Regions from separate parts of the Homo sapiens genome. Here region 2 is linked to region 1. The links are contacts of gene promoters, found by promoter capture Hi-C in human tissues and cell types (Jung and others, 2019). All regions are on one chromosome and are shown on one strand. Each heading gives the region's core, a stretch centred on a gene start or on the middle of the fragment in contact. The rest is flanking DNA. Distances are from core to core; before and after follow the strand shown.

Region 1 (3,054 bases), core at 372-2,871:
GGGAAGCTGTGAGTTTTCACTGTATTTGTTCCAGGAGAGCTGGCTCTTAGAAAGAGCCTGGCACCTCTCCACTTGCTCTCTCTTGCTTCCTCTCCCCCACTGTGATCTCTGCACATGCTGGCTCCCCTTCACCTCTGCCATGAGTGGAAGCAGCCTGAGGCTTTCACAGATGACCAGTCTTCCAGGCAGTAGAACTGTGAGCCAAATAAACCTCTTTTCTTTATAAATTACCCAGCTTCAGGTATTCCTTTATATCAACAGTAAAAAGACTAAGCCTAGAAACCTAAAATATTTATGTAGCTCTTTACAGAAAAAGTTCATTTAAAAGTCATGTCTGGGCTGGGCACGGTGGCTCATGCCTGTAATCCCAGCACTTTGGGAGGCCGAGGCAGGTGGATCACCTGAGGTTAGGAGTTTGAGACTAGCCTGACCAACATGGTAAAACACCATCTCTACTAAAAATACAAAAATTAGCCGGGCCTGGTAGCGCACTCCTGTAATCCCAGCTACTCGGGAGGCTAAGGCTCAAGAATCGCTTGAGAGGCGGAGGTTGCAGTGAGCTGAGATCATGCCATTGCATCCCAGGCTAAGCAACAAGAGTGAAATTCCGTCTCAAAAAAAAAAAAAAGTCATGTCTGCTTCATTTTTTGGAAGAATAGAAATAATAAGTAAATCAAGTCTTAGGTCCAAACTTGTTTTTTCTTACATTGAAACCTGGTGATGCTACACACAAGCTCCGCTCCTGGATTTTGATGAGGGCTGCACTGTCCACATGCTTGGTTCCCAAGAGGGTGTCTAACAATAAGCTCTGCAAATGGCTCATGTTCCCTCAACTCTGAAAGGGAAAGTGCAGTTGAAGCCATTGACTCTGGCTAGCTTTTAAAAGGCATGTGAATACAAATGTCCTTAAGACACTGCAGACAGTTCTAAGATCAGCAAGTGTACTTTGAAAAGGTACAGGGTGAAAACGGTGGTCCATCATTCAGGGCCCACCAGTACCCAAAGAGGAAAACAGAATCATAGAAAAATCACAGCTCACACAGAATAGGTTATGAAGCTGAGTTTGGAAAATCACAGCCTGGTGATTTTCTGGCTATGTCAATGGTTTACATCAGGATTATCTGCGATTTAAAAACAAACATTACACACTGAGAAAAACTCTGTAAAATAAAAAATAAAAACAAAAAACAAAACCCAGCCAGGATGGAGAGCTACCCTGCTAAGTTAAACACGACTAAAAGAGATTATGCGTGGCCATAAACCCACACATTCCCTTCCCGGTGACCTGCATCAGCGCCAGCTATGAACGCTGATCAACATCCCAATGGACTAAAAACACCTTGAAGGCACTTAAACCCACATTTCCCGCACAAGTCCCCAAGCCTTGGACCCCCCTCATCAGGACCTCCGGCACAGGCGCCCGTTTCCCGCCACTGCCTTCCAGTGGTTTGGTCCCCGAGCAGGACCCAAGGCGGGGCAGGGGGTGGTGAGCGGTGAATTCCCTGGCACCGAGGACTCGAGGGAGCGGACGCCACCCCGCTCTGTGGTGCCCGCAAGGACCCGGCGACCAAGGACCCGACCGTCAACGGACGCGGTTGCGGGTGGGTGGCGGCGGCAGGATTGGCCGGGCCACGCGCCGGTCACCGAGAAGCAGCGACTCCAGCCCCTTCCGCAAACCAAGACCCGCCACCTAGAGCCGCCGCCCAATCCCCTTTGGGCCTGAAGCCGTCCTCCGCCGCCCCGGCACCGCCCGCGCGGACTCGCTGTGGAACCCGCGGCGCAGGGGGCGGAGTGCTCGCGCGGCGCTGCGTCCGGGAGACGGTGGGCGCCAACATTCGCGCGTTCCGCAGACGCGGGCGGGCTCCCTTCCAGCCGCAGTCGGACGGCTCCGGGGTCGTCGGGCCGGGCCCGAGTGTGTAGCAGGACGGCCGCGGGCCTGCTGGCCTTGGGAGGGCAGAGAGGTGCCTGTCGCGGCCGGCGACCTCCCCGCCAGGCCGGGCGGTCCCCGCGCACGACGCGCCTGCGCGGGAGGCCCCCGGCCCGGGGCTGGCGTGGAGGCCGCAGGCGCCCGGCCTAGTGGGTGGGAGGAAGGGCCGGGAGTGGGCGCGATGAGCGAGAGCGGGTGCGGACGCCTACGACATCCCCGTCGCACCCGTGCCTCGGGGAGGACTTCGAGCCGCTCAGAGCTCGAAGACTCGCGCAGTATGACCGAAAGCCCCTCCCTGCCTTCTCTAAGCAGCTCAGCCTGTGTTTCTGTGGCCAGAAAGTTGCAGTTCTTCCCACTCGAGGCCACCAAAGTCAGAAAAGTGTTGCAAATGGGACTCCGAGAGGCCAGGCTGAAGCTGCCACACTGGCTGGAATGGGCTGCCTTGGAGGGGGACGTGGGAATCCATTCCAAGGGACGGGGGATTCTTTCAAAGAGCATCTCGCCTGCTTATAAAGGAGGCTGGCTCTGAAGCCGTCATCTGGAGTCTGTAGTGAAGGCCTCTTGTTAGGGAAACTGGATGGTTAGTGTTCAAAATCCATTTTGCGTGTGTGCAAGGACACAGGTGGTATTAAACAGAAGAGAAAATCAGATGACTGTGAAATGTTCAATACTAAATAAGATGATTTTTAGTTTTTCCAGGGGCATTGTTATTTGTGACCACAATGAAAAATGTAGACAGTGATGATCTGGTAACTGGCACACTTCCCAAGCTCAAGAGCTCAAAAGAATGGTTGGAGCCCAAGCCCCTTTGTTTTATGGAGGTATATATCAAATAGTGTGGGATTTGGAGATTTTTTTACTTGGATCGTTGCAGTAGGAAGTGGCTTGTGCTAAATATATTGTTTTTTCTATTGTTTGTTTTTATTTCATTCTGTTTATTATTCCCTTCACTTTACTAACTTTGTATATTCACTTTGCTGTTTTTTTCTAACATCTTAAGGTGGAATCATAGGTCATTGATTATATACCTTTTAAAATGTAACATAGCTATAAGTTTCTCTTGAGGTACTGCCTTAGCTGCATCACCCAAATTTTGATATGATGTATTTATTTATTTATTTATATTT
Region 2 (3,018 bases), core at 72-2,571, 160 kb after region 1:
TGACTAAAGTTGCCCCTGCATTATTGGTTCTTTAAAATTGTCCTTACAACAGTATTAGGAAGCAGCTTGGTGCATATATGACATAAACTTGCCCTAGATTTCATAAAGTATTAAGTTTTATTTTAAACACTGATTTTCAGTGATATGGGTAAGTGATTTAATCTCACATTTTCCTTTGAATTGAGTTAGTAATCATCTTTATCAGTTAACCCACTCCCAGGGATGTTGTAAAGGAACCAGGTTATATTTCTAAGTGTCCTGGACTTCTTTTGAGAAAGGTTACTGTGACAGGCAACCTTACTGACTTCTGGCATTAGACTCAAACAGGCAGTCAGATAGCAGAAGGATATTCAAGCAAGCAGAAAGAAAAAGGCTTATATTGTATATGTTATTTCAAACAAAGATACTCAGATAAAGGCAAAGAATAGTCTAGTTTTAAAAAAATAAAACAGCAAAGTAACTCAAAGAAAAGAAGCTAGATATTAGAAAATAACCTTAAGTAAGAGGAAGAGGTTGTTGAGACAGCTTAGCAGAGACAAAAGGCACTGAAGAACAGAGTCATCCATATTCCCACACTGTAAGATAAGGCAGATAAAAAGCCAATTAAACTACGTACAGAATTTTTTTTTTTTTTTTTTTTTTTTTTTGAGATGGAGTCTCACTCTGTCGCCAGGCTGGACTGCAGTGGCGCAATCTCAGCTCACTGCAACCTCCACCTCCCGGGTTCAAGCGATTCTCCTGCCTCAGCCTCCCGAGTAGCTGGGACTACAGGCGCATGCCACTACGCCCAGCTAATTTTTGTATTTTTAGTAGAGATGGGGTTTCACCATGTTGCCCAGGCTGGTCTCGATCTCTTGACCTCGTGATCCGCCCGCCTCAGCCTCTCAAAGTGCTGGGATTACAGGCATGAGCCACCATGCCCAGTTATGTAGATTTTTTAAAGAAATAATATAGGGAAGATAAGTTGGCTGGCTTGTCTAACCAGCAATGACAAATGATTTGGTTTTCTATAAAATTTTTTTCTACTGAACATATGCTTGTGTAAAGTGTATTATTAACATTGTTCACCTCAAATTCCCTTTCCTTACCTGAAGCCACCATGTTGTCCTTTCTTTAGCATGCTGTTTACTCTATATTTGCTGTTAATGTTATTCTAAATAAGTCAGCATGATAAAAGCCATATGAAGAGAGAGATTTCTTATACAAAAGCTTTATGAAAAGCTTTATTTCTTACAGAGAATAGCTTATGCTCTGGAAACTTTATATTGTTAGCAAAGGAATAACTGAGACTATTCCCAAATTTACATTCTATGCCATGAGCCTGGGTTTTTAGTTTCTTTCATAGGTATGGCTTCAGTGTACAATGAATACTGTGGTGAATGATATGCAGACAGTCTATGTTTTGGACATCTGCTCTGCCACTGCGGCAAACAATGAATCATTAACTTGCTTTTTGTGCAAAGTTTATAGTGCCAGATTCTGTTCTAGATTTCACTGATTATTGCATTATTTAACAAAGGTTAATTAAATTACACTTCACAAGGAAACAAAATAAAAACTGTGTTAAAAGAGCCACTAACACCTAAACTATTTCAAATTTTCCATATTTCTCATTTTTGAAAATTGCCTAGGATAACGCTGGCTGAGATCAGTTCTGTAATACTGACAAAGGCAATTGTTCTGGAAATGTATAGATGCCAAGACAAACAGCACATAGTCATCAAAAATTGGAAACTGTGATAAAGTATATGTTTAGTTATATGACACTATGTCATATAACTAGAACATTAAAAACAATCTTGAAATTCTTGTATAGTTGAAATTATAAAATAAATTATGAAAATGTAATACATATAATAGCTTTAGCTATTTATTCTATTAAATCAAAATAATGAAGGTAAGAAGGCAGTTACCTAAAAATAAATAGTATCAAAAATAAATACCTTTAGTTGATTGTTAAAAGAATCCATTTCTGACAGCTTAGATGCAGTTTCTTTTTCAAGAGCATCTAACTGTTCTTTAAGTCTTTGGCATAATTCTTCCTTTTCTAATGATTTTTTATGAAGTAAACTGACCCCTGAATCTGAAAAACAAACATCAGACAGTTTACATTTTGCAGAAGTTCGTATGTCATTACCAGCATGTCATTTACTGTTTGGTCAGATTGATGTAACTAGACCAATACGAAGGATGTATACACAATGCAGACCAGTACAAGAGAAAACATTCAGTTGTTATTTCCACTTCCCAGATTATATGCTGGAAAGAGCATCAGAGGAAATGGTTGTAAGCCTTGGTTCTGCATTCAAAAGGACTAGGACCTGAAGTGAAATTCTACTTTAGGAAAGATGCTTCACCAATCGAATCCTCAGGCTTTTCATCTATACAATGAGCATCATGCTACATTAAATGAGGTGATGGATATAAAGCCATTGTACACTCTGGTCCACAGTTAATACTCAATTAATAGAAACTATAGTTAAAGTAGCTTTCCATTTATTCTTAGTGCTCCCAAGAACAGGGAAATATTCACAGCAAAGATTCAGTAAGTATTACTAACTGGATTATTTAGTAACATTATTTTAGGAGGTAAGAACAGAAGGTTTCATTTTATATTATCTTTTTTTACATATTCATGCAGGGATGAAGAAACCAGATGGAAATATATAATGCAGAATACATTACAATAAATTAAAATAGCAATATTATCTGTTTAAATGTCTGTTTTTAACTTTATCATATTTTTGAAGTACAGAAGTACAAAATTTAAATAAAATGAAACATACAGAGTAAAAAATTAAAACACCTCCATTTCAACTGCAAGTTCATCCCCCTTTTAGGCATTTACATTTAGATGTGTACATACTCAACTTTTATTTCCATGGGTTTTAACAGAATCATATTGTCTACATTGCTATGCAACTTGTTTTCAATTTAGTAAGATATCTTATCAATCAGGACAAACAGATCTAGTTCATTCTTTTAAATTGCTCCATAGTAGTTTACATTATGGCTACT

What was found. The method cuts DNA at HindIII sites, captures the fragments that hold promoters and counts their contacts. A contact is called where the count stands out against the background at its distance.
Region 2: a contact is called between a fragment that was not itself captured here and the fragment with the promoter of PFN4 in region 1, in 1 of the 25 tissues and cell types used here (H1 embryonic stem cells).

The regions. Positions count from the first base shown.
Region 1 is chr2:24,121,713-24,124,766 of GRCh38, forward strand. It overlaps PFN4 (profilin family member 4), which reads right to left and starts at 1,622. Exons shown (of 5, transcript NM_199346.3): 1 at 1,406-1,622; 2 at 707-835. The coding sequence starts at 823. It overlaps FAM228B (family with sequence similarity 228 member B), which reads left to right and starts at 1,757. Exons shown (of 11, transcript NM_001145710.2): 1 at 1,757-1,821; 2 at 2,618-2,748. The coding sequence starts at 2,650. RefSeq lists a silencer at 1,689-2,188 and an enhancer at 2,259-2,508. The HindIII fragment of the contact is 15,112 bases long and covers 1-3,054 here.
Region 2 is chr2:24,284,269-24,287,286 of GRCh38, forward strand. It overlaps ITSN2 (intersectin 2), which reads right to left. Exons shown (of 40, transcript NM_006277.3): 16 at 1,944-2,083; 17 at 495-575. Among named protein-coding and RNA genes, the nearest start is that of ITSN2, 75 kb to the right of the region's middle. The HindIII fragment of the contact is 4,001 bases long and covers 1-3,018 here.